Regions from separate parts of the Homo sapiens genome. Here regions 1, 3 and 4 are each linked to region 2. Evidence: promoter capture Hi-C in 16 types of primary human blood cells and fetal thymus (Javierre and others, 2016). All regions are on one chromosome and are shown on one strand. Each heading gives the region's core, a stretch centred on a gene start or on the middle of the fragment in contact. The rest is flanking DNA. Distances are from core to core; before and after follow the strand shown. Region 1 has its middle 20 kb from the start of LINC01354. Region 2 holds the start of TOMM20 (translocase of outer mitochondrial membrane 20). Region 3 has its middle 23 kb from the start of IRF2BP2. Region 4 overlaps IRF2BP2 (interferon regulatory factor 2 binding protein 2).

Region 1 (6,786 bases), core at 300-2,799, 580 kb after region 2:
CTGCCCAGGCTGGTCTCAAACCCTGGCCTCAAGCAATCCTTCCGCCTCGGCCTCCCAAAGTGCTGGGATTGCAGTCGTGAGTCACTGCGCAGGCCCTTACATATGTTTTTCCTTGATATGCTCAAAAGGGGGAAACTGAGTCCTGCTTGTCATGTTGAAGGGGTATTCTTGGCGCTGTGCCATGACTCCTAGGCTCTCAGAGGCATGGCATGGATTGAGCCCTGTCTCACTGTCTTCACTTGCTTTCAGTAGCATCATCTGCTCATTGCCAGACTCTTAGCAGTGATGAGAGCACATATTGTTACTGGAAATGGCCAGAACTGGCAAGTTTTTTTTAGCATAAATGCTTTAAGCACACATTATTAAAATCTCAGTTTTAGCTATTCCAGGATAGCTGTTTGTAGAGAGCTGGGGAACACGCAGACGGCTAAGGACCTGAGGACAGCTTGGCTGGAGAGACAAACACTTGCACATACACGTCTGAGAATGAGCACTGTATTTTCTAGGCCAGGGCCAAATAGTCAGCAAGGCAAGGATGCGAGGCAGGGGCCCGGGAAGACGTCAGTGGTGTCTTTCTGCACATTAGGTTCACGCATTGGCTTCACCAACAGGGTGAGATCTATTCCTTTTTCTTGTGCCTCTGTGTATATTGGGGCTTTTTCTTAACAATCAGATTTACCTGGAGCTTGGGTCCCATATAATCACACAGAAAAATGGCAGTGGGGGAGGTAGCGTCACATCCTGCTGAGAAGAGCACAGGACTCTGAGCCAGAAAGAACGGGCTTCGAACCCCAGCTGTGCCCAAGATCAACCATGAGACCTTAGAGCAGTCAACTAATTCATTGAGCTTCATCTGCTTGTCCATACAACGGGGGACTCCCGTCCGCTCAGCAGGGCATTGTGAGAATCAGAACTAGCTTTCGAAAGAGCCCAACATAGTAGGTTTCCAACAGAATATACTTGCTCTTGAAGCGAACGTGGGTTCTTCTAAACTGAAATGATTAACTGCCTGGAGGTGGTTAATGGCTAGGAACTCTGCTTACCCCTGCTGTACATTTTTGTGGTTCGGAGCTCTTTCCAACAGGCTGTGGCTTTAAAAATGCAGATAGCTCCTGCTAAAGAGATAAAGCTTTCCCGAGGAAGCTAAAGGGCATCCTGTTCTGATTAGCACTGACTCTGTCTGGACTGTAATGCCTCCACCCGCGTCAGTCACAGAATGCTGAGCAGGGATCTGGAGGCTGCTTCGAAATGTGATTGCAGGCCTGACCATGAGACTAGAATACATCACCATCATTCTGTCGGTCATCCTCAAGGAAAATCCACTAAAGGTTTCAGAAAAAAAGCCTGGCCAGGGGTCTGCAGCCTGCCACGTGGGAGCCTGAAGTGGGGATGGTCGACATGCATCTCCTGGGCCGCTCTGGAAGTGACAAGCTTCCCAGTGGGTCAGGACAATGTGGCTGCCACACGGTGCAGGGAGGGATAGTCACCATATGCAGGCCACATTGACCGTGCACGCTGATCTGACCCAGTGCTGTTTACTCTGTAATCACTGTCTGAATGAAAAATCAGGAGATCCATGCGCATTTGCTTCATGTTGTTCGGGATGGAAAATCCTCATCCTTTGTCCCCGAAGAAAAATATCTGTGAGGCCATCAGTCTAAGCTTTAAAGGTCATGGAGGGAAAAGGTACCAGCGCCATCTAACTCTGCTGGACCAAATCCGTGAGGGGAATGAGGTAAAAATGGGAAATGAATCAGTACATCTAAAAAGAGAGGCAAACCATTATTAATGCAAGAGTGGGACTCAACCTAAAATTCTACTTATTAGCCTTCATTGTAAGCTTGCAATTCATATGTCTCCCACAATGAAGCTACATTAAGAATAGTAGATTAAATAAATAAATAAAGAGTAATGGAAGAATGTGATGATTGCCATTTATCACCCATAAATATCCACGTTTCTATTCTGTGGAAAAAAATCAGTGATCTAAATATTAACCAGTAGCGCACATTATAAACACTTACTTACATATTATGATCACCATAAAGTCATTACAACAGAAATAAAAACTGTTTTTTATTTTAACTATTAATATTCATCAAATGTTAATGAAAATACCTAACAAATAATTATGAAAAACACATTGCTTAAGTAATAAAGATGAAAGAGATGATAATCGTTGTGAATATTTAATCTGCAAAATAAAGAACATACCATTAATAAGACTTAATTATGTCATTAAATATTTAACTTTACTTTCTCTACTAAATTTTGCTTGCATTTTGCATATTTTAAATGTGAAAAGCTTCTTAATAAGATTAGTAGTTTCAGCAACATAAAATGCCCGACCATTTAAGTTTGACTTACTGTCTTCATCAAATTGGTCAAACATCATTTTATTTATCATTAAGTGAAATGAACAACCCTCTTTGCTGTTTATTACAAGTTATGCTTTATCCATAAGGGAAGTTGAATAATTGATTCCAGGTTTATACACACAAAAGTGATGTTTTGTAACAGTGAAGAAAATGAATTGCTTTCCTTTTCCATTTTTTTTTTCAGTATCACATAATCTCCCACATTTCCTACTGTTTGCGTAGGAGAATACAGATCTGATTTGACCTTAGTGTGCTGTAGAATAAGTTCTACACCATTCACAGTTAAATCCATTCAGTTCCTCACAATTGACCCCCATCACTTATAACTCTGGCTTCGGAGAAATCTCATTTCTTTGGTTTAAGATCAAAGAGAGTTGGCCGGGTATAGTGGCTCCTGCCTGTTAATCCCAGCACGTTGGGAGGTTGAGGCAGGAGGATTGCTTGAGGCCAAGAGTTCAAGACCTGCCTGGGCAACACAGCAAGACCCTCTCGCTATAAAAAATTTAAAAATTAGCCTGCTGTGGTGGCGTGTGTCTGTAGTCCCAGCTGCTCAGGGAGGCTGAGGTGGGAGGATCACTTGAGCCCAGGAATTCAAGGCTGCAGTGATCTGTGATCACACCACTGTGCTCCAGCCTGGGTGACAGAGCGAGAACTTGTCTCTAAAAAAAGATGACAGAGGCCAGGTGCGGTGGCTCACGCCTGTTTTCCCAGCACTTTGGGAGGCCGAGGCAGGTGGATCACTTGAGGTCAGGAGTTCGAGACCAGCCTGGCCAACATGGTGAAACCCCATTTCTACTAAAAAATACAAAACTTAGCCGGGCATGGTGGTGGGCGCCTGTAATCCCAGCTACTCGGGAGGCTGAGGCATGAGAATTGCTTGAACATGAGAGACGGAGGTTGCAGTGAGCTGAGATTGCACCACTGTACTCCAGCCTGGGCGACAGAGCACGACTCGGTGTAAAGAAAAAAAACAACGACAGAGAGCGAGTTAGATTCCTACTACTGCCGATCCACAGTCAAGGGTAGTCTCAGATCTCTCGAACTTACCTCAACACAAAGCCAGGGTCTCCCTCTCAGGTGTCCAGCATGGGGCCTAGCTGTCTCTCCCACCATCTCCTCCCACGCCCCTTTGGGACCTGGGCCTCGGATGACCAGAAGCTGGATGGGCAGAGCACAGGTACTCTGAGGCAGCGTCAGGCATCGCTGTGCATTGGGACAGGCAAAGCTTTCTCATCCGTGCATCTGCATCTCCTGCATTCCTGGTGAGGCAGCTGAGGCAGTGGGGTAAATGCCCATGCTAGCCTTGTCCTTTGCTGGCTAAGACATAAAGAGCTCTTTGTTGGAAGTGGAAGGAGAATCCTGACATGACTGCTGCTTGGGCAGTACCTCAACCTGGCTCTGAGGGCTAAGGGGGCAGCTGGGCAAGGTGCAGGTTGGCCCAGGCCTGAGGGCCTCTCTCAGGATACAGGAACCTTCAGAGCTAAAACCAAGGATGGTTCCAGACAGTGCTGGAGGGCTGGTCACCCCTACAGTGTTTCTGATCTGTGAGGCACAGAACAGTCCCGGATGAGACCTGGAGGGGCAGACCAAGTGGAAGACAAAGAAGTCTGTTCGGAAAGGCCTCTTCCTGCCCAGGCAACGGCTGGAAAGAACAGGAAAAGGCAGGGGGAAAGCCTGAAGTCCCAAGGAGAAATACAATGTTTCCGTCCTTGGGCATGGACAGGGGTCTGGAGCTCAGTGCTTCATCCGTTTAGGAATTCCATTACCTAGTCTCCAGGGCTCTCTGGCGGCTTGAGCCCCCAGATGCTCTGGTGGAGGCTGTGCGCCGCTCCTCCGCCCTCCTCCTGCCTGGCTGTCGGCCGCCGCTGCCTGTGCAGGAGGCTCATCGTTATGCCAGGGCTGTAGGTCTGCTCAAAGCTTCCCAGTCACCAGAAACATGTTCTTCTGGGGCTGCCTTTCCCACTTGGCTGGCGGTGCCTGACTTGCATATGAAACCGGCCCTTGGGGGCAGTAGGCTGGCGTGTCAGCCTCTCAATGCTAGACCAACAGACCCAGCCAGATTCTCAAGGCAGCCTCAGCCTGCCCTTTCTTCCCAAGAACACATGGGGTCTTTTTAGAAGAGCCATCGTGAGAGATGCTAAAATTTCAACTTTGTAAGAACCAACAATGACCAGAATAATAATGGGGCACATCTCCCTGATGCTACATGCTTTCACTTGTCTTAGAAGGGAGCTTTTTTTTTTTTTTTTGAGACAGTTTTACTCTGTCGCCCCAGGCTGGAGTACAGTGGCGCAATCTCGGCTCACTGCAACCTCCACCTCCTGGGTTCAAGCAATTCTCCTGCTTCAGCCTCCCGCGTAGCTGGGATTACAGGTGCACACCACCATGCCCAGCTAATTTTTGTATTTTTAGTAGAGACGGGGCTTCACCATGTTGGCCAGGCTGGTCTCAAACTCCTGACCTCCGGTGATCGGCCCTCCTAGACCTCCCAAAGTGCTGGGATTACAGGTGTGAGGCATCGCGCCCGGCGGAAGGGAGCCAATTTTTGTGACATCTGTGGTTTCCCATTGCGCCTTGAGCTGCAGAAGCCAGGCAGGCCCCAGGGCTGCTGGTCCACTGGTGGTGTTGGAGATGCTGCTAGAGGGGCTCAGCCCCTGCAGTGTTAAAGGCACAGGCTGAAGCTCATCTTGTCAATCATCAAGATGCTGATTGAATATCCCCAGGGGATTCTGAGACTGGGCCTTGTAACTTTAGGTGCTGTTGAAGGTCTGATCACGCCTGCACACAGCCTGCCATTTCCCAGGGATTTAAGGGTCTACTCAGGACTGCCCCTTCCACATTGTCCTCCTTGGTCTCCCCGCTGAGCTAGGGCTTCTTCTCCAGGGTCTCCTGCCACTCTGTGCATAAATCCATCACTGCTCTTACTCCTGGAAGAGCAGGTGACCCTTGAACAACATGGGGGTTGGGGCGCCAACCCCTTAACAGCGGAAAATCCACATATAACTTTTGCCTCTCTCAGAACTTAACTACTGATAGTCTATGTTGACCAGAAGCCTTGCTGATAACATAATCAGTTGATTAACATACATTTTGTATGTTCTAGGTATTAGACACTATTCTCACGAGAAAGTGAGTTAGAGAAAAGAAAATCATAAAGAAGAGAAAATATATTTGCTCATCATGACATGGAAGCGGATCATCTTAAAGGTCTTCATTCTTGATGTCTTCATGTCAAGTAGGCTGAGGAGGAGGAGGAAGAGGAGGGATTGGTCTTGCCATCTCAGGGGTGGCAGAGGCAAAAGAAAATCCATGCATAAGTGGACCGTGCAGTTCAAACTTGTGTTGTTCAAGGATCAACTGTGTAGGCTTTCTCCTTCTCTAGACGGGACTTCAAGATAGAATGGACCCTCTGTCATCATTTTTGCATCTCCAACAGCCACAACAGTGCTTTATATATAACAAATGACCAATAAATGCCTATCAAATGCATTGAATAATGGAGAATGCCTTTCCGTCCTTTGAATCACAGCTTAAGGGATTACCTCTTCCAGGAAGTCTTTTGGGTTAATGGAGGGCACCTTCACCTTTCAGTATAATCCTAACCCTCTCTTGTTTTTGAAAAGAGTTAATGGGGCATAATGAATAGTCATATCTAATATTTACTAAGCACTTACGACCTGCCAGGCTGTGTTATAAGCACTTTACTTGCATTCCTTTACTTGATTCTGATAATAATCTGCTGAATTAAGTTATATTACTATCATTCCCACTTTGCAGATGATGAAACTGAGAAGCTGAGGCACAGAGAGGTTAAAAAACTTAAGGCTGGGCGTGGTGGCTCACACACCTGTAATCCCAGCACTTTGGGAGGCTGAGGTGGGAGGATCACCTGAGGTCAGGAGTTCGAGGCCAGCCTGGCCAACACGGCAAAATCCCGTCTCTACTAAAAATACAAAAATTAGCCGGGTGTGGTGGCAGGTGCCTGTAATCCCACTGCTCTGGAGGCTGAGGCAGGAGAATCGCTTAAACCCGGGAGGTAGAGGTTGTGGTGAGCCAAGATAGCATCACTGTACTCCAGCCTGGATGACAGAGTGAGACTCCATCTCAAAAGAAAAAAAGAAACTAACTTAAGTTGACATATGGCCAAAGTGGAGAAAGGATGAAACCCACCCAGTTTGACTTTAGGCCTGCTTACGCATGCTGTCCTGCTGTCTCTGAGTTTTATTTTGGCTGCATATTGAATAAATGACTAAAAATCTAGAGCGGTGGTGACAGAACTTTCTAGTATGCAGAAATGTTCTATATCTGAAATGTCCAATCAGTAGCCACTAGCCTTATGTGTTCATTGAGCACCTGAAATGTGGCTAGTGTTTCTGAGAAAGTAAATGTTCAAATTTTAATTAATGCA
Region 2 (7,424 bases), core at 1,487-3,986:
ATTCTCAGTTTATTCACATTGTGATACTACCTTTGAAGGTTTTTTTGTTTTTGTTTTGTTTTTTGAGATGGAGTTTGGCTGTTGTCTCCCAGGCTGGAGTGCAGTGGCGTGATCTTGGCTCACTGCAACCTCTGCCTTCTGGGTTCAAGCGCTTCTCCTGCCTCAGCCTCCCAAGTAGCTGGGATTACAGGCGCCTGCCACCACGCCTGGCTAATTTTTTGTATTTTTAGTAGAGACGGGGTTTCACCATGTTGGCCAGGCTGGTCTCGAACTCCTGACCTCAGGTGATCCACCTGCCTTGGCCTCTCAAAGTGCTGGGATTACAGGCGTGAGTCACTGCACCCAAGCCTCCTTTCTCTTTTGCCTATTAAACCTCTGCTCTTAACCTTACTCCGTGTGTGCTCAAGTTCTTGATTTCCTTGGCATGAAGCAATGAACCTTGGGTATTACCCCAAACGATGTCGCTTCAGTATCTCACTTTGTTGCCCAGGCTGCTCTCAAACTGCTGGACTCAAGTGATCCTCCCACCTTGGCCTCCCAAAGTGCTAGGATTACAGGAGTGAATCACTCATCAATTCCAAGGGGCTAGAACTCCCAGGAACTGGGGACAAAGGCCAGCCAAATTCTTTATTATGCAACCTCGTGTTACTGGAAAAGGATCCAGATCCAGACCCCAACAAAGGGTTCTTGGATCTTGCCTAAGAAAGAATTTGGGGCCAGTCCACAGAGTAAAGTGAAAACAAGTTTATTAAGAAAATAAAGAAGATCACTCACGGTGGCTCATGCCTGTAATCCCAGCACTTCGGGAGGCCGAGGTGGGTGGATCACCAGATGTCAGGAGTTTGAGACTAGCCTGGCCAACATGGTGAAACCCCATCTCTACTAAAAATACAAAAATTTGCTGGGTGTGGTGGCACATGCCTGTAATCCGAGCTACTGGGGAGGCTGAGGCAGGAGAATCGCTTGAACCCAGGAGGTGGAGGTTATAGTGAGCCAAGATCATGCCACTGCACTCCAGCCTGGGTGACAGCAAGACTGTCTCAAAAAAAAAAAAAAAAAAAAAAAAAAGTGAAAGGTTACTTTGTAGAATGGTGCATACCCTAAAGCAAGAGAAGGAACATGTCCACCTTAGGTACAAGGCTTGTTTGTATTGAACAGCAAAAAAATGAGGAAGATGAGCTCTACTCCAAGAGCTTGTGACAAAGGATTTTTTGTGTGTTTGTTTTGAGACGAGGTCTTACCCTGTCACCCAGTTTGGACTGCAGTGGTACAATCATAACTCAACTGCAGCCTCAACCTCCTGGGATTAAGGGATACTTCCGCATCATTCCCCATGTAGTTGGGACCACAGGTGTGTGCCACCACGCCTGGCTAAGTTTTTAATTTTTTTGTGGAGACAGGGTCTCACCATGTTGCCCAGGCTGGTGTTGAACTCTTGGGCTCAAGCTATCCGCCCATCTGGGCCTCCCAAAGTGCTGGGATTACAGGTGTGAGACACTGCCTGGTCTTTGTCAAAGGACTGTTAATCCTGTGTAACTACTGTCTTCTGCAAGGATCAATATTATCTTTAAAGGGAAAATTAAACTAAGAATGCTTTTGTTCTTAAGATATCAGGACATCAGGACATTTCCTGGGTCTGTTAGGTAAACATTATTAACTTGTTCCCTTCCCTGTAAATATCCTGTGACCAAGAATGCCAAACTTCCTGGGAATGTGCCCCAATAGGTCTCAGCCTCATTTTACCCAGCCCCTATTCAAGGTAAGGTAGCTCTGGTTCCAATGTCTCTTGACACTGATGCTTGACTTCGATACCCCTCAACTTACAGTGTCTGTTTAATGCCTGCTTTCTGCCCACGATTTTCCTTGTCAATATCTTAAGTTAGATCATATATATATATATTTTGTTTTTTTGAGACGGACTCCTGATCTGTCACTCAGGCTGGAGTGCAGTGGCTCGATCTTGGCTCACTGCAACCTCTGCCTCCTGGTTCAAGCGATTCTCCCGCCTCAGCCTCCAGAGTAGCTGGGATTACAGGCCCCGGCCACCATGGCCAGCTAATTTTTGTATTTTTAGTAGAGACAGGGTTTCACTATGTTGGCCAGGCTGGTCTCAAACTCCTGGCCTTAAGTGATCCGCCTGCCTCGGCCTCCCAAAGTGTTGAGATTACAGGCGTGAGCCACCGCGCCTGGCCTGATCATGTGTATGTTTTCGTGTGGCTATAAAACAATTCACGTTTTCTATTTTTTCTTCAATTGTGTATATTTTTCAAGAAATTACTCCATTTAATTTTATTCCAGTTATCATAAAATGAGGCTATCCTGTAACATTCTTTTGAAATGGAACCACTACGCACAATGGATTGTGGCAACCTGAAAAGAAAGTACAGTTTAATTCAAACAAGTCACAGGCTGCCTGTGTTAGACAAGATGAAGCATTCGCAGTCTGGGACCCTGCATCTCTGTCTGCCACAAACAAGGCTGTCAGCTAGTCTTCTGAGTACGTGCACGCCAGTAACGCGTACGCCTCGTTACAGCATGGTCGGCGGATATGAAAAAAAGTCCGTGGTCACGTGCAAATTCCCGACTCCAGTGCGTACACCCAGCGGCGCAGGGGAAACGCCGGCTTCGCCCACTGCGCAGGCGCAGGAGCCGCGCTCTGGGCCTCTGCTCAGGCTCTGCCGCGGACGACCTCGAGGCCCTTAGTTGACTGGGACCGGAAGTGGCGTGTGCTCGGCCTTTCTGTGTTCCTGGCCCGCGGCCGTCGGGTGTGAGCTGCGCCGACCGCTCTGAGGGTTCGTGGCCCACCGCTCCTTCGCGGTCCCTGCCGCCACCGTCCACGCTCAGCGTTGTAGAGAAGATGGTGGGTCGGAACAGCGCCATCGCCGCCGGTGTATGCGGGGCCCTTTTCATTGGGTACTGCATCTACTTCGACCGCAAAAGACGAAGTGACCCCAACTTCAAGAACAGGCTTCGAGAACGTGAGTGGGTCCTCTCTCCCCTGGCCAGGCTTGCTGCCTTCGGCCGCCGCCCTTCACAGGAGGGGTCATTGCCTCCCACCAGCCTGTGGGCCGCGCAGGGCGACCGCGTGGTGCGGCCCTCAATAGGCGATGGCGCTGGCTGCGCCGCTCCGGGGGCTCTAGTGCCCCGTAGGAATTCCATTTTGGAGGAAGGATTTTTCCCGTTTTGTTTTCCCCAGACACTTTAGCCGTGCAAATGCACTCTTGATTTCTGTTGCAATCTCGGGTGTGTGTGGCCTGGGGAGGAGGTTGTCTCTTTTTTTGTCGTTCATCTTTTTAAACCTCTACTCTTAACTAAAAAGTCGTGCATTTTTGTCGCAAATTTTAGTCTGAGGCTAAATCCGCATGCTCAGTGCAGTATCATTGTTGCATTCTTTTTTTTGAGACGGAATCTCGCTCTGTCGCCCAGGCTGTAGTGCAGTGGCGCGATCTCGGCTCACTGCAACCTCCGCCTCCCGAGTTCAAGCGCTTCTCCTGCCTCAGTCTCCCCAGTAGCTGGGATTACAGTCGGGCGTCACCACGCCCGGTGATTTTTTGTGTTTAGTAGAGACGGGGTTTCACCGTGTTGGTCAGGCTAGTCTCGAACTCCTGACCTCAGATGATCCGCCTGGCTCATTGCTGCATTCTTAAACCCTCTTGGTAGCTTCGTTCTAAGTGCTTCCAAGATATGAGTGAATGCTATAGAAATTGCAGGGGAGTCCAAAGGGCTGCGCTTCTCCCGTGGCTCAGTCTTATTTCATACCTGCGACATCTTTTAAGAGAGGTCTACCAGAGGGGAATCGTGTCATGAAAACCGTTGTGATCCACCTTGAATTTTCGGAGAATCTTCATTCGCATCATTGAAGAGCAAATTTGTTGCAATAAGAAATATTTTTTGGCTTATCTTGGTTGTTCAGCCAAATTAGTTTTTGGAATTAAAATTGATACGTAAGTTACTAAAGCCCAAGGGGTACAAAGAAGGGATTATTGTTTACTTAAGTAACAGTGGTTACGGTTTAATTCAGCTATACTAAGTCATTTCAAGTGTTCAGTAGCCCTGTGTGAGCAGTGACTGCAGCGCTGATCTTACTAGCACTAAGAATCAGACATCTAGTTCCAGCTTTCTTATGTTTTAGGAGGGAAGGGATATAGACATAATTTGATTTATGACTAGGCAGACTAATAGAATACTGTTTTACATTCAGACCTTGAATTTCTAGGGCCAGGTTAGCGGCATAATTTGGGGTTTCTGAATCCTAATTTCTGTAGTTGTAAAATCAGGTAATGCCACCTACCTCTTGTTGATCTTGTGAAGGTTGAGATGTTTGAATTGCCTTCCACGTTTTCTGACATAGGAAATGCTCCTCCATAAATGCTGGTGGTCATTCTGCCTTCGGGTTATTGTCCTGTAGTTGCCAAAATGGGTGACAGCTGGGGGCTTTGGTACAAATGCAGAGTTATAAAGAATGGATTAACCCTATCTTCCGTTGGAAACCCTGAAGTCCTGTTGCAGAAACAAGAGCTATCATTTTAGACAAATGGAGGAATGTTATTTCAAAATAACTTCTCCATCATTTTCAATCTAAAATTGTTTTTTCTGGATTTAGCGGCAACCTAATGATTACAGTGAATTACTTAGCTGCAGCAGTAACTTTAGGCAAGTAACTTCAAGCTTTAGTTTTCCCTTTTTGTAAAATGGTATAGTGTAGAGTTTTAGTCCTGTTCCTCACACATGGTAATTGATGAATGCTAGAGATTTTTTGTTGTTGTTGTTTGTTTGTTTGAGTCTCGCTCTGTCGCCCAGGCTCGAGTGCAGTGGGGTGATCTCGGATCATTGCAACCTCCGCCTCCCGGGTTCAAGCAATTCTGCCTCAGCCTCCTGAGTAGCTGGGATTACAGGCGCACACCACCATGCCAGGCTAATTTTTGTATTTTTAGTAGAGACAGGGTTTCACCATATTGGCCAGGTTGGTCTCGAACTCCTGACTTCATGATCTGCCCGTCTCAGCCTCCCAAAGTGCTGGGATTACAGGCGTGAGCCACCGCGTCCGGATGAGATATTTTTATGAGTAGAAATATTTTGTTGTTTGATGTTTTTGTAAAATTTATTTAGAATAATCTTGCAGTCTGTTCACAGGTAATTGAGGCTGGGTGTGGTGGCTCAACGCTAGTAATCTCAGCACTTTGGGAGGCCGAGGTGGGCGGATCACCTCATGTCAGGAGTTCAAGCAGCCTGGCCAGCATGGTGAAACCCCCACTCTGCTAAAAATACAAAAATTAGCCGGGTGTGGTGGTGCACGCCGGTAGTCCCAGCTGCTTGGGAGGCTGAGGCAGAATTGCTGGAATGTGGAAGGTGGAGGTTGCAGTGAGCAGAGACTGCACCACTGCACTCCATCCTGGGGGGACAGAGCAAGACTCTGTCTCCAAAATATACGTGTGTGTGTGTGTGTGTCTTTATATATATTTATATCTATATCTATCTATCTTTATCTATCTATCTATCTATCTAATCTAATCTATCGACCAGGCGCAGTGACTCACGCCTGTAATCCCAGCACTTTGGGAGGCCAAGGTGGGAAGATCATGAGGTCAGGAGATCGAGACCAGCCTGGTCAACATGGTGAAACCCCGTCTCTACTAAAAATACAAAAAAAAAAAAATTAGCTGGGCGTGGTGGCACGCACCTGTAGTCCCAGCTACTTGGGAGACTGAGGTAGGAAGATCGCTTGAACCTGGGATGCTGAGGTTGCAGTGAGCCGAGATGGCGCCACTGCACTCCAGCCTGGGGACAGAGCGGGGACAGAGCGAGACTCGGTCTCAAAAAAAAAAAAAAAGTGCAGTTGCGTGACTGGCTGATTTTAAAAAGTTTAGGGGTATTTTGCCTTTGTGGAATGAAATTCTGTTCAGTTAATTTTGAGTTTTTAAAATTAATTTTTTTTAAATTTTGAGTTCTTCTAGTCTTATTTCCAATAGAATATTTACATCTGCAATAAAAGAGCAGTTTTTCACATAAGGCATGTAGCTCATTGGCTTTCTTTTTTGTTAAGAAGAGAGACTTAGGCGGCCGGGCGTGGTGGCTCAGGCCTGTAAACCCAGCACTTTGGGAGGCCGAGGCGGGCGGATCACAAGGTCAGGAGATCGAGACCATCCTGGCTAACATGGTGAAACCCCGTCTTTACTAAAAAATAGAAAAACTTAGCCGGGCATGGTGGCGGGTGCCTGTAGTCCCACCTACTGGGGAGGCTGAGGCAGGAGAATGGCGTGAACTCGGGAGGCGGAGCTTACAGTGAGCCGAGATGACGCTGCTGCACTCCCGCCTGGGCGACAAAGCGAGACTCCGTCTCAAAAAGAAAAAAAATAAAAAATAAAAGAAGAGAGCCTTATATTGTTTAAAATGAGGCTTGAGGTTAAATTTGGGATCCTAATTTATTTAGACTTTTTGTCACCTGTTAGCAAAAGCAGAGTATCAGGATCCTTGAGGTGTAGTTTTTATCATTCTAAATTATGAGTAAATGAAATGTAATTTGCCAAATTACAATGCCAGCTGCAGGTGCATTTCACTTATATGGGACGGATAAAATGACACATTAAAAATATATTAAGCATCTTATTTAAATGAATAAATCTTGGAAACATTGAGTCAAGGCTTGATTTTGCTCATTGTTAAATTTCTTCATGGTTTTTCAGTTGATTACCATCTGTCCCTTTATCACAGAAATACTGCATTATACTATATCTGAAAATATGTTAATGTAATAAGTTAATTGTATTATGAAACTAAAGCCAGAATTTTAATCTTATTGCTAAAAATGTAAAGCAACTAAGTGATCTTAAAATTTGGTAGCTGTATCAGTTAAATGTATTCAGTGGCAATCACACACTCCTCCCCACCTTATTAAAAAAACTTATGACTCAGTTTCACTTTCCTGGGTTTCATTATCAGTTTTGTCATTTTCCCTAAATTCTGGTTTAGCAAATTGTATGTCTCACATACAGTTGATCCCACAAACTTGGCATGTTCATTTCTGAGGTGCCTTTTGTTTTGATGGTAATAACATCTTTACTTCTCCACACTATTAACTATAGAGGCAGAAGAGAGTCATGTTTCAAGTCCAAAAGCCTGGGTTTGAGTTGCCATTCCACCAGTAAGTAATTGTGACCTTGGTACATTTTCTCATCTGGAAAATGGGGATGATAATAGTACCTGGATTTTGTTTTTTGTTTTTGTTTGAGACGGAGTCTCACTCTGTGGCCCAGGCTGGAGCGCAGTGGCGCTATCTCAGCTTACTGCAACCTCAAACTCCCAGGTTCAAGTGATCCTCTTGCTACAGCCTCTCGAGTAGCTAGGACTACAGGCGCCTGCCACCATACCTGGCTAATTTTTTGTATTTTAGTAAAGACGGGGTTTCACCGTATCAACCAGGCTGG
Region 3 (6,745 bases), core at 2,174-4,673, 540 kb after region 2:
TTTGGTGCCACTGTATAAGTCAGGGCTCTCCAGAGCCTGACTAATATACAGAACCAATAGGATAGAGAAAGAGAGAGACCGATTTTAAGGAATTGGCTGATGTGATTGTGGAGACTGGAAAGTCTAACATCTGTAGAGCAGGCCAGCATGCTGGAATTTTGTTGTGGAGTTCATGCTGCAGTCTTCAGTCTGAAAATCTGCAGGCTAGAAACTTAAGCAAGACATTTATGCTGTAAACTTGAGGTCCCGTTCCTTCTTCTTCAGGAAACCTCAGTCTTTGTTTTAAAGGTCCTCAGCTGATTGGATGAGGTCCATCTACATTATGGAGGGTAATTTGCTTTACTTGAAGTCTACTGATCTAAATATTACATTTTAAAATACTTTCAAGGCAACATCTCGACTGGTGTTTGGCCAACTGGGCACCATAGCCTAGCCAAGCTGACACATGACATTAACCATCATGGCCACTTTCCAAGTTTCCTTTTCCATCCCCAGACAATGACGCCTCTACCAGTTGCGATGCTTTCAAGGGCAAAAATCACAGAAAATCCTACTCAAATAGGCTTAAACTATAAAGGGAACTTAATGGCTCTGGGAACTAATAAAATCTACAGTCAGGTAGACCCTAGGTCTGACTTGCTTAAGGTTTAAGCATCTTCTCTCTCTGATTCTCGTGTCTGTACCTTCACTATGTTGATACTATCTTCAGGCAGGCTTCCCTCCTGCTTACAGGATGATGCACTTTCTCTTTCACATCCAAGAGGAAAGAGGGCAGAGCATTCCTTTTAGAACAAGTCCCAAGCTTCCCTCTGATTGGCTCAGTCCCGACATCATCATCGTGGGCAAGGAAAAGCTCTGCTCTGATTGGCTCAGGTCTGCCCATGCCCTAACCAATCCCAGGGCAAAGGCATGGGATTGCCCTGACTGGCATCTAGTTAGGAGTCTTTCCCTGCAATTGGGAGTAGGATCAGTCCCACCACAATAAATGGTTGCTGCACAGTGGCTGAGGAATGGCCTGGATATTGGGAGATAAACTTAGTACTCCACATCAGCCTCCAAAGCAGGGCTGCCTGGAAAGAAGGGTGTTCCCTGTGTGGATATCAGGGCAGTATCAGTACAGCATGGCAGAGTGGGGTCGTGGCTGGTGGACATGTGCTCACTTCAGATGTCCTTGTCCCTGATCTGTTTGCCCCTCCCTCTGACACAGGGAGTGCTCACCTCAACAGGATTAAACTCCTAGCAGCTGGCTTTACAACTGCGGGATCTGGGATGTTGCTGGGAGCCACCCAGAGCTGAGGTGCATGATTCACGCTGTTCTGATTAGTGGCTTGGCAGGGACAAAGAATGAAGGAAGAAGGTGGCTTAGAGACAAGTTGGGGCAGCCCAGAAGAGGGGGTTCTTTGAGATTTTTGATCTGTAGTTTGTTTTTGTTTAAAAAACCAACAACTGAGGTGGGAAGACACATCTTAGCAAGTTGTAAAATGCCTCCTCCACCCCGCCCTCTCTCTAGGCCTCTTCCCTCTTTACTGTGCTGCCACTGCAGTCTCTGGCACAGGCACGTCACACAGAAAGCCAAGGGAGGGAGGGTGATGCAGCCTGGCCGAAAAGCACACCGGTTCCTCGTGCACAGTGAGATGGGAGCACACGGCCTGTTGGTGTGGGCGGCCCCGGCGCCACCTCGTACACTAGGTGTTCCCATCAGTCTTTGAACAAGGGCCATCCACTGTCTGAGCAGACACACGCCAGGTACCTGTGTACCACGTTGGAATTGAGAAAGACCACGAGAAAAAAAAAACAGCAGAGCTTTTTGTGGCCTCAGTATCACTCTGGGCGAGTGAGAGAGGCATTTGGGGACCAAACATGGCTGGGATTAAACGAGGGCGTTGCTACCTCAACAGGTACATAATTCTAAATTGTGTGAGGGGAAAAAGTCATCCTGTTGACTCCGAACAAAATGATTTATGGTTTACAAAGCTGTTTTGCCTCTGTCGGGTCATTTAATCCTCATAACCGCCTCTAAGAAACACTTTTACAGAACAGAAAACTGAGGCAAAGCCGAGCGACTTGCTTTAAATTATTTATAGTTATAAAGTGAAGCTGATCTAACTCTAATCCCATTTTCTTCTTTTTGCTATTTGAGAGTTACATTTTTTTTTTTGGCCTTATCAGTACAGGGAATATTAGTTAAGACGTGCCATGGAATGGATTATACAAATCCCCCAAACCCCTTTGCTTACAGACGGGTTTATACTCATTCTTCATGCTTAGCTTGCTAATGTAGGAGTCACATGTTACTGTTGTCTTTATTCTCCTGGTTTAATCAGGAAAACGAGCCAGAAGAGCTGAAATGATTAGCTTGGGATCGTTAGAAGAGGAAAGAATTTATATTCACAGTGACTGTATTTCTAGTCCATTGATTGGGCAATGTTGCTTTTATGAATCAATTGTCATGATTGCTATGCTGAATAAAATGTGGAATCGCTATCACAAAGAAAACATAAATTATTTAGTTTTAAAATACATACTATCTATGCATGGACCTAAATAGTCAATGGAATATTTCTATTTCCTCTTCCTGATTTTTATTTAGGTTTTCTCAAGGGGCACTCACATAGGTCCCTCAGTTCTACTGTGGCAGGTAGCAGTGTGATTCAACAACATGCAATGTCCTGCCATGTGACATTATTAATTAACTCTCATTGACAGCCCCGTTATACATGCAGGTTGATTATTCAAATTCAATACAGTGTGGTTTAGGGGAAACATGAGAGACCACACATACCTTGAATCTGGGGCTCCAATTCCGAAGGCAAGGTGATTTCTAGAAATATGTATGATCACCTTTGGAGAGTCTAGTAACAAATGCACCAGCAAACTCATCTCTATTAATGTGTTAATTTTTTTTCCTTAGGGTATATAAAGGTCATTTCATAAATTGCACATTTCACACTGATTAATCTTCATGGATTATCTCTTGCTATAGCAAATATGATAATGTCCAACAATTGCAATTAATAATCATGGAACTTTATTTCATGAGAGGATGTTTTGAAAGCCAAATAATCACTGTTAAGAGGATAGCAGAAAATTGGATAGAGCAGAATAGAAGTGGAAGAAAGAGGAGCGAATAGAGAAACACATAGAAATGGATGTAGTGCTTAGGATACTCAAACATTGAAAGCTCTGGGTTTAGGAATTAAAAACAAAGGAGGTATTTGGCTTAACCACTATGGGATTTTTCTTTTTCTTTTTTTTTTTTTTGAGACAGTCTCACCCTGTTGCCCAGGCTGGAGTGCAGTGGCACAATCTCGGCTCACTGCAACCTCCACCTCCCAGGTTCAAGCGATTCTCCTGCCTCAGCCTCCTGAGTAGCTGGGATTACAGGCACATGCCATGATGCCCAGCTAATTTTTTGTATCTTTAGTAGAGACGGAGTTTTACCATGTTGACCGGGCTGGTCTCGAACTTCTGACCTCGTGATCTGCTCGCCCTTGGCCTCCCAAAGTGCTCGGATTACAGGCGTGAACCCCACGCCCAGCCACTGCTATGGGATTTTAAGGATTCTAGATATAAAATATTTCATGGATTAAGTCATTTGACAAACATTTATTGTGTGCCTCCTACGTGTGTGGTACTGGAGATTTTAGATTGTTATTATGATCCAACAGTCTTATAGCCTACAGCAAAAGGACTGGAGAGAGAGAGAGAGATTTGATTAACACGAAGGAAAAGGAGAAAGAGAAGGAGAAAGAAAAAGCAGAAATGAAAGTAGCAGCAGCAGCCAATGTCAACAAAATCCCCATTGCAAGCCCTCATTTTTCCCAAGCAAAATATGTATAATGTTTGTGAACTAACACTTTCCCCAATTTTCTTCAGCAAAGGTTAGTCAATCATGAACCCAAGCATAATAATATGTAAGTTCTTCTCTCCAGCAGGTACCGCGAGAAACACAAGTTAAGATTCACATTCTGTTCCCAAAGAACTTATGAGCCTATTTGGCAATTTCAAGCTAATGCACACTCAATTATGAACCCAGTGTAAGATAGTACGCATGCAGGTGTGGAGCGGTAGGATTTGGATTAGGGGTGCATGGTGGTTACAGAGGGGAGTGAAAGGGAAAAGGAAGTTTTCATGGAGAAGACAGACTCAAGTGAGACCTGAGAGGAGGGACATGAGCGGTGGGACAAAGAGACAGAAATTAGCATCCTATATTTTGGGAAGCATGAAGGACTGTCTACGTGATGGGAAGTAAATAGGATAAGATGAAACTTCCAGGGGCCCAGAAACTCATGCACAGGGAGGGGCCAAGAATTCAGTGTGGCCCATGATGACAGTGGCAAGTCAGGCAGCTGACCCTGGAACAAGGCGGGGATAGGATTAAGGCTGCCAACAGGCCAGTAAGATAACCCAATTCTGAGCAACTGGACCAGGATGGCAGCAGAGAAGGAGCAGATGAGACATTTCAAAGAAGGGGCTGATACGACTCAGAATCTGACCTGTTTAAGGGCATGGACAAGAAGGGGGCTTCAACGATGACTCCAAGGTTGCAAATGTGGGTCGTTTATGAGAATGGAAGCACCACCCAATCTTGGAAGAAGTCTAAATGCCTAGATGAGCATATAAGAATGACTTTCTGTTATGCCGGGACATGCCGCAAGGCAGAAGAAGATCTTCCTCTCCTCCCCCTACCTCCAGAGTTGGCCAAGAGTGGTAGTGGGTGATGTTAAAGAACATCAGACAGGAAACGGACCAGGTTGCCGAGGGTCCAGGTCGGGCTGAGCAGAGCTGGGGCCGAGGAGTTCTGGGTCAGGGAGACTGAGAGTCCAGACTGGAGGACGAAGATGAACACAGCAACTAAGCAGAGTAGATTTCATGGTCAGCAGCCCAAACAGAAGTTTCCTTGGTGCTCAGGATGTGTGTGTAGAGAAGTCTTTTGGTTATGTAGTCTGTAGATCCGTTTTTGTATTTGTGCTGTCCAAGCAGTGCTTTTCCATTCATTCCCCCACTGACTCATGCATTCGACACGCGTGATTTATCATTCACATGCACCAGGCACTATGCTGGGTGCCAGGGCAAAAAGAAAGAAGCCAGGCCCTCAAGAAGCTCCCAGCCTACACAGGAGGGCACAGATACGCAGACTTTCAGAACTCAAGACAGAAGCAGTAAGTCCAAGAAAACTATCTGAAATAACCACTTGGGATATTTTCTCAGAAATTAACCAAAGGGATGTTGTGTTGAACTGGGATTGAAGAGGGTCAAGATCTCAGAGCTCTTCCCTTGGGAATTCTCAGCAGGAGGAGCAAAAGCAGAGGGTGGCAGGATTGAGGGTTAGAAACATGTGTCAGTGTATCCGAGAATCCAGGGCTGTTGTCACAGCAGTTTGAGGAGGCTGAGCAGACCGTACAAGAATCTGGTGTGGCCTCTGAGAGGCTAAGATACAGAGCACAGGCTTTTTGAATTGAAGGGTAAAACTGAGCAAATGAGAACTGACTCATTTTTATTTTCACCAATCAGGACCCTTTTAAATCCTATTTCATGGGTATATAGTAATGTCACGAAATGCAGATTTTATTTTCATCAATTGATGCCATAGAGAGAGAGGACTCCAGAGAGTAAGCTCACATCTCCCCGCAGAGGTTCCTGGCTGCGGGCCAGATACCATTCTTTTAAGCACCAAGCATCAATTAAAGGCAAGCTCTCCAGCAATTCTGCTTCCTGCGGACAGATTGGGTCCAAGGAGAAAGCAAGGAAGACCCTGAGAGAAGAACTTTCCCTGGTGGTGGAGACTTGAACTCCATTCAGCAGCTTAGATGTCCCCCCTGTCTCTCCAGCATGACTGCCAGGCTCTTACCAGCTTGGAAAGGAGCCAGGAGATGGGAGCCCCCTCCTCTAGGGCCAGTCCTTAGGTCTATAATAACACTGTGACATTTCATCCCTGACACTTCTGCCTGACTTCACCTCTACCCCCACCCAGAGATATCCCTGAGTCCTAGATGCATGGCTGCAGGCTTAGGGAGAGGTGCAGGAAAAGGAATGAAGCTTAGCAAAGTTGCTAACAGCCCAGGTTTGGGCATTAAAAAAAAAAAATGGATTTGAATTATGTGTCCACAACGTGATTCACTATTTAATCCTGAACAAATTAGTTTCTGAGTCTCTGTTCCCTTTGTAGACTGGGCATAAGCTAGTACCAGTCTCATAAGGACTTTGTACATATTGAATGAGATGAGCTATGTAAAGTGTGTTGTACTGTGTCTGCTGCCTAGGAAATGCTCACTGCACGATCCCTGGTATTACTAAGAATGTAGCTCTCCATGTTCCGTGTGAGTTCGAGGACTAAGCAGCGTTGCCTATACCCTTCTTTCCTTCTCTCCCCTGGCAACTCAACTCAAATACCTGCTGCTGAAATGGTAACTTCATTAATAGGTCGAATGATCTATGAAGAACCTCTACTGTACAGAATAGTTTTCACTTTGCTGCCTTGTCTTCCTGCTAATTTTCTGGTTAATCTGGCAATTTGAACAAGAATATACTCCCTCCTTCCCCCACCCTCCAACGGCGCACACGCGCACGCACACAAACACACACACACACACACACACACACACTGGAAGATGGATGTGTGGGCAGCTGGAGAGGTGGGGTCATGGCAGACCAGAGGTCAGTGCTGCCCTGTAGGAGAGCCCACAGAAGAAAGAGGCCCTTTGCCAAAGGAGATTTTTATTTTACTGTCTCCAAAAGGTAAGAG
Region 4 (6,762 bases), core at 187-2,686, 520 kb after region 2:
TATTTTTTAATGGTCAAGTTACTAACACTTGAAAATCAGATACTGCACCAAATACAGTGTTTTTCCGTAGTGTTTTTAATGAGTGCACCTATTACTACTGTGCGAGAATTCATGTTTTACCAGTCATTGTTATATTACAAACAGACTTGCATGATTAACCAGTTGTTACACTTACTTTTTCAAGTTGGAGTATATATGACTCAGTGCAGACTGGTCTCTCTTATGTGAATGCACACATGCAGAAATGCAGAGTCAATTTTACATGCCCATAAAGACATTTGTAAAGAATTCAGCTCTTATGGTCTGTTGTATAAATGTGTATCTAGGCACTTTGGAATTTGACCTCACAGATGTTACAACTTGATCAGTCGTTTGACCTAATTTGTGGTAGCTATCTGTATGTTTTGCAATCTTAATACAGACATGCTTTCCAAAAAGATTAATACAGAACCATCCTGCCGTTTTGGATAAGTCTATCCAGCTGTGGAAAGGGCAACCTGTGGTTTCTCTGTACTGGTGTTTAATGGGGGAAGAATATGAACAGCTTTAAAGAGCTGTGTATTGTGGTTACTACTATTAAAAAATAAGATCTGCACGAGTCTGACTGGCCTTTGGGTGGCCTTTGTGGACGGCTCGTAGCTGGAAAGTGTTGATCTGGGTTTTCTGGCATTCTTTTAAGTTAAAAAGTTAACATCGGGACATGGGTTTGATCTTTTGTTGTACCTGATGACAGTGCAGAGATTCTCCACAGCTGGATAAAAATGTCACAAAGCTACTTACTGTACATGGGCAGTATCAGATTTCAAATCCTAATATTTCAGCTGTGCTTTTAATACTCAAAATATTAGGGGATGGGGTGTTGAAGCTTTCCCTTTTTTGCTTTTAACAATTTATAGAATTTAACAGATGTACTGTCTTTCATGTGGCCTCACATTTAAAGTTATGAGAACATACACATGGTTTACAACTTTTACTATATACCTTTCCTTGGCCACCAAGTATTTTAAAAGTGTGCCACCTTTTAACCTTTACTTTTTTTAAGTTGAAGGTGATACTTTTTCTATATATGATGAAACTCATGTCAACTGAAGTGAGTGTAATCTCAGATACCAACATTATTATATTTTAAAATCACGCTATGGAAATATCACCTGAATTCTGTCATTTGTCAGATTTACAGTACCTTTTTTTCTTTAACTTTTAGCATTAAATAAAAATAAAATTGGGAGCACTGAACATTTTCTGAGGCCTTTTTTAATTTTCTAAAGCAAGCTTAGAATGGCTATTGTTTTAATCACTAATGGCAATGTGACTAAAGGATGTGTGGGTTTGGGGTTGGGGTTTGCCTGAACTTCAGGAGATAAAAGACATGGAACAAAAAGGCAACTGATGGTATAAAATAGAAGTGCCAGGGACTGCGGAAAGGGCAACTGGATAGGGGACACAGATAAAAGAGCTGAACAAAGTACGGCTAGAAAGCATTTGTTTATTTTTCAACTAGCAGCAGAACCAGCCATTCTGCAATGGTAGATTGGAAAGAGAAGATAGTGACGACACTGGAAAGACTCTCAAGACCTGGAGCTGCTCTTTGAAAAGCTTTGGAATAAAACAGCTACGTTGGGCCATAGGAAATGCGCTAAAGACAAAAGGGATTTAAAAAAAAAAAAAGCCTTATACTTTGGAAAGCTTAGGAATGAAAAAAGCCAAAGCCATGTATGAGCTTTATTGATATCCTGAAACTTAAATTTATAAATAGAGATAAAAGGTAGAAAGCACTGAGACACATTTTACTGGCTACTCTCATATAATAAGAAATTTCCTAGATGTTGCAGCTTTTACTCTTTTTATTGATTAATGGCTTGGCAGACTTCTCTATGAAAGGAAGTTGTGAAACTCATAAAGAGTTGGAGGCTAGGATATACATAGAGTTACTATATGTTTTAAATTAAACAGCAACAGTGAATGTGTACTTGAATATATTTACACTAGGGTGGTCTGGTAACTAGGAGGGGCCCATCACTATATATATTTTAATAGTTTTTCATTATTAGTCCATTTAAGGTTTTCAAGAAACCATATTCTTAGCAAGTTACAGATGATAAACAATTTTTCATGTAATAACTAGGTTAAAAGAAATAGGATGAACTATGTTTTTGTAACAAAAATGCTAAATTTTATTTTTAGTGAAATTGAAAATAGTGCAGCTTGTAGAAGTAATTCTCAACATTTCAAAACCTCTTCCCAAAGATATACTTTAATGACTGCATTTCGTTTTCAGTTAAGAAAACAAACCAGACTCTTGATGTGGCAGATGTCTTTGTTTATTCCCCAAAGGGGAGTTGGGGGAGAGTTAAAAGGAAACTATGGAAATCCTTTTTTAATTCCTAGACTTTTAAGTCCCTCTTTACTCAAAAGTTGTTTTGCATATGATTTATAGATGGTTTTATTTGGTTAGTGAAGAGTAAAATGTTTCTCTTCCTGATTCCTAAGTGTATACGTGGAATCATTCAGAAAAATGTTCAGTTGTGTGTAGGCCATGAGAAGTCCTGAGTCACCCTCATTTGCTTGCCTTTTGTTCATAGGGAACAGTATGAGAAGACACGCCTTTCCTCTGTCACAGACCAAGGTCAGATGCACCAATGAATGGAATACATATTTACCCAATTTATCGTGGGGTTCTAGAAATCGGGAGTGGGGGTGGGGACTGTTTTAACTCCTTCAGTGCCACTGGTTAGGCCTCTGACAGCAATGGTACTACAATCAAATAAAAATTACGGGTGTGACTTTCCAGATTACAAACTCTATAGATCCCTTGTTGCTGTTTCTCTTGACAGCCTGCATTTTCCTTAATATGTCTGAACCCCTCACTGTAACTTAAAAAGCACACAAATAGACAATTTATAAATTACTCGCTAAGCGGTTAGAAGATAGAAAATGGGTAGATTTATGGATTATCTGTGGATTCCTCCATTAATCCTCAGATAAATCCATAATTTGTCAGGGATACCCACACTACCCCTAGTTATTACATTAATTTATACCTAATTTAACAGTGAACATTGTTTTAACTCATTAGGTGTGTCATCTGCTCCCTCCCCATGTCAATACAACTTAACTTAAAATGCTTGATTTGAAACAGCTCTCTGATTGTTTGATTTGAAGTGTAACTTGTCTCTTTAAAAGATTATAGAATATGAAGTCTGTATTTGCACTGGTTTTAATCAGAAAATTATGCACATCTGCCTGGCACAACATAAAACAATCCATACAACCCACAGAAAAGGTATTTTAGGACAAAAAGTAACTATACCATAGACAGATCATTATTGAGAATCATTTAGACATTGTATCTTAAAAGCTGTTCTTTTATTTTTAATCCAAAACCCAACTGAGTAAAATTTCCTTATTAAACAACCCTATTAGAATGGTATAAACAGTTTCTTCTGTAAGACAAACATTTATTTGGAAAATATATAGAATGGCACTGTATAACACTAACTCAAAACATGGAATAATAAATCTTCAGTGCAAGTAAAACATCACAAAATCAGCCATGAAAAGCCTCTAGGAGATGATTTCTGCCTAGGTCAGATAAGTCTAGAGACTAGACTACAGGATTCCTAGTTTAAATTGAGAGCTTCAAGGCACCGGTTCTCATCCTTTGAATGGGCTGTCAGAAGTTAGATTGCGTAATCTAAAGAGCCTCCTCCAGCAGCTCTACAGACGCCCTTGATGCTGAGATAAGACATCCTGTATAGGGTAATAATGTCACATTTGAATATTTCTAAATATAGTTTACATTTTGGGGGAAATGAACTACATTACATAATCTGTAGATCACATCACTTACCACTTTTACTTAGCAATTAGTATTTCTATATCATCACCATCAGGTAGCATTCAGATGCCCATCGTGCACAAAAAATGAGTTCGGTTTTGTTGTGGAGGCACTCAGCAACTTTAGCAGATAAATATTTAAGTCATTGCAAATTTATCTGCAATATCTATAGAAAACATCTTTCCTATACTAGTTCAAATAGAGTACTTTGAATTGCGTATGTGGCTATTTATGCCTCCGGGGTGGGGGGGCGGTGGGAATTAAAAACCCGGAAACATTTCGCCAGAGCTCAGGGCCTCAATTTATTTTAATGCATGGAAAGAGTTTATTAAAAGTGAACCTCAAATTACTGAGGTTTTGCCTTCTTTTATTGTATGATTTTTAAAGTATTTGCCATACTAGTAAGAGTTCTGCAGAGAAGTGACATGTGGGAGTAGAGATTGTCTGGGTCAGACTAAATCAGCATTTCTTTGGCACAGGCTTGTCTTGGGCCGTCTGCCTGAGCCGACTGTATGTGTGAGCTGCAAAACAGAAAAAAGCTGTTGAGAGTCTTAGCCCAGGCTAAGAGCCCATTACCCCCATTTTGTTATTTCTGCCTGCAAACAGCAGTTCAATTAGCTTTTCTGGTGATAAAAGATAAAGATTTATTGTACCCCATATACAATTGAAATCAGAATTTCACAGGAGGGTCACAGTCATTAGAGAAGTTTTGGAATACTATTCTCCTAATAAGCACCATATGGGTTGTTGCTGTTATAATTTAACACCTACTAAGCAGGCATCTCATTCTAGGCTTTGAACAGCTGAGAGGCTAGCTCCTACCTTTTGTGCAGCTTAAAGTCAAAGCCACAGGTAGGAAATGTCACTTTGCTTGGTTCAAGACACGTATTGACAAGAGTTAACCACGAGTTTGTTTCCTTCCAGTTTATCTTACAAACCACAGTAAAATTCTGACATAGGAACACAGTCCGAAGTCCAAAGTGCTTTCGCACAATAAGTTCATTATGCCCAGCGTGCAATTCATGCATCAAGGGGGCCGCCGGACCCCATTATCTTTATACAAATCAAGAGGCCAGTTGGAACAAGGAGGCTGGTCAGAATGGTCAAATTGTAGTTTTTCCCTTTCTTTTTTAAAAAATTTATTTTTTCACTTTGTATCGTTGTTCAGAATGGCACTTTTTAAAAGGAAGAAAGCCTCCAGCCCTGCCAAGCTCTGTTTACTCCACGGGAAGGAAAGGGGAGGAGGCTCCCTCACTCTCCAACAGCCTGGAGCCCACAAGGAGCCCTTGCTGCGGTTTCCAAGGCGGCCCCCTGACTTGCGCCGCGCCTCTATTCTAGAACTTTTCCCGGGCTGGAGCAGCGCAGTCTCCGCGCGCCCGGCTCTGCGCACGTGGAGCCGCGCGACCCCGGGCGGGGCGGGGCGGGGCGGGGCGGAACGGAACGGAACGGGACGGGACGGGACGGGGCGGGGCGCGGGCCCGGAAACGGGAAACGGCCCGGTGCGCCCCGCCCCTCCGCTCCGCCGCCCAGTCCTGGCCCCGAGCGCCAGGCCAAGCCAGCGCGCCAGCTGCCGGGCTATAATTAGAGGGACCGCAGCCCGGGCCCGGCCACCTCCTCGCGCCCCCCGCCCGCGTTCCCGGGGAAGAATGTGCGAGTGCGCGCGAGGGCCCGAGTGCGCCGCCGCCGGCGCGCTCTCTGGAGCAGAGACCGCGTGGTGAACCAAATAAAGTAAAAGGTCTGGCTCCTGCTGGGCGAGGCCGAGCGAGGAACGTGCGCGCCAGAGCAGGGGTGTGGCGAGCCCTCGGTGGCCCAGAAAAGATCAAACGCGCGTCAGCAGCAGCCGTGGCTGCCGCCTGCAAGGGTCCCTGACGCGGGCCGGGCTGTACAGGGTGGATTTTCTAAGTTGGAGATGGCGCATGACAAGAGCTGCCCCAAATCAAATGTCACTCCCTTTTTGGAAATCATGATGCTGCTTTTTTTTTTTTTTTTTGGCTGCAGCTATAATAAGCCAAATGTTCCGTGCTGGTGAAGTAAACACGCGTGTTTAAGAAGCATCTGTGTTAGCACTAATGGATGGTGCATGCTAATAAAAATGTATTTATTAAGCAAACCTCAGGACATGCCCCTATGGGAACTGCCCAGAGTACTGTTAACAACTGACTGCCTGAAAATGAGTTTACTTTCTATCAAGAAACTTTTATTTAAATTTGAAGAAAAAAGTTTTTCTTTGATCATAGCATTGTTGTGCACCTGAGGTTCTACCCAATTAGTTAACTGCTAATTTTTATTAATTATTCCCTTTAATACTCTGCAGTATTTTCTCAAAAAATGAACAGCATGACCCCTGTCACTTTAAAAAACTGACATTAAACTATTTCTCCATCACCAGCCTTGGAGTTGGGGGGGCAGGGTGCTGGCTACCAGAAGTAGCAACTAGATTGTGGAATAAGTATTGTGTAATAGTTTTAGTGATTGTTTAAAAGTGAATGAACCGGTGAATGGATAGGAGGCTAGAAAAAAAAAAAAAAGCCTTGCTTCAGGCTTGTGAATTCCTAGACACAACCCTACCCAAAGACTTCCTTCACCAACATATTTTTCTTTCTAGATAATAGGCACAAAAACCATTTAGAAGTTTGAGATGGAAATCATGCAATGCACTCTGCTCTTTATATATGTTACTGAGGAATCTGGAAGCTTTTCCGGGTTGAAATGCAATTCCTAGGAAATTATTCTTGCTCTTTTCCTGTGGCTGTTTTTAACACAGCAGCAATGCAATTTCAGTGGCTCTGCTCCTTCACAAAGACCTTTGAGAGGGAACTATGCTGAGAGATGCAAATTCAAGGTTTTCTGAAAACACCTCAGAATTGTCCAGTTCTGCCCCCAGATAAAACCACTAGAATAAAGGTCAGGAAATCTCCAGATGT

What was found. The method cuts DNA at HindIII sites, captures the fragments that hold promoters and counts their contacts. A CHiCAGO score of 5 or more calls a contact.
Region 1: a fragment that was not itself captured here is called in contact with the fragment with the promoter of TOMM20 in region 2 in 1 of 17 cell types (total CD4 T cells); the score reaches 5.2 in total CD4 T cells.
Region 3: a fragment that was not itself captured here is called in contact with the fragment with the promoter of TOMM20 in region 2 in 6 of 17 cell types (neutrophils, activated CD4 T cells, total CD4 T cells and 3 more); the score reaches 8.3 in neutrophils.
Region 4: a contact is called between a fragment that was not itself captured here and the fragment with the promoter of TOMM20 in region 2, in 2 of 17 cell types (naive CD4 T cells and total CD8 T cells). The highest score is 6.4, in naive CD4 T cells.

Annotation. Positions count from the first base shown.
Region 1 is chr1:234,548,007-234,554,792 of GRCh38, reverse strand. No RefSeq gene overlaps it. Among named protein-coding and RNA genes, the nearest start is that of LINC01354, 20 kb to the right of the region's middle. RefSeq lists a silencer at 1,272-1,479. The HindIII fragment of the contact is 231 bases long and covers 1,434-1,664 here.
Region 2 is chr1:235,124,149-235,131,572 of GRCh38, reverse strand. TOMM20 (translocase of outer mitochondrial membrane 20) reads left to right here and starts at 2,736. Exons shown (of 5, transcript NM_014765.3): 1 at 2,736-2,978. The coding sequence starts at 2,858. SNORA14B (small nucleolar RNA, H/ACA box 14B) reads left to right here and starts at 3,636; the gene lies at 3,636-3,770. It overlaps LOC105379283 (a long non-coding RNA gene), which reads left to right and starts at 3,372. Exons shown (of 2, transcript XR_949295.4): 1 at 3,372-3,944; 2 at 4,604-4,654. It overlaps RBM34 (RNA binding motif protein 34), which reads left to right. Exons shown (of 11, transcript NM_015014.4): 11 at 1-390. RefSeq lists enhancers at 2,459-2,558, 2,789-3,008. The HindIII fragment of the contact is 4,902 bases long and covers 1-4,670 here.
Region 3 is chr1:234,584,114-234,590,858 of GRCh38, reverse strand. No RefSeq gene overlaps it. Among named protein-coding and RNA genes, the nearest start is that of IRF2BP2, 23 kb to the left of the region's middle. RefSeq lists an enhancer at 1,669-2,169. The HindIII fragment of the contact is 5,237 bases long and covers 805-6,041 here.
Region 4 is chr1:234,598,743-234,605,504 of GRCh38, reverse strand. It overlaps IRF2BP2 (interferon regulatory factor 2 binding protein 2), which reads left to right. Exons shown (of 2, transcript NM_182972.3): 2 at 1-1,236. Among named protein-coding and RNA genes, the nearest start is that of IRF2BP2, 8.1 kb to the left of the region's middle. RefSeq lists silencers at 2,549-2,718, 4,604-4,653, 5,054-5,583 and enhancers at 5,127-5,640, 5,641-6,154. The HindIII fragment of the contact is 324 bases long and covers 1,275-1,598 here.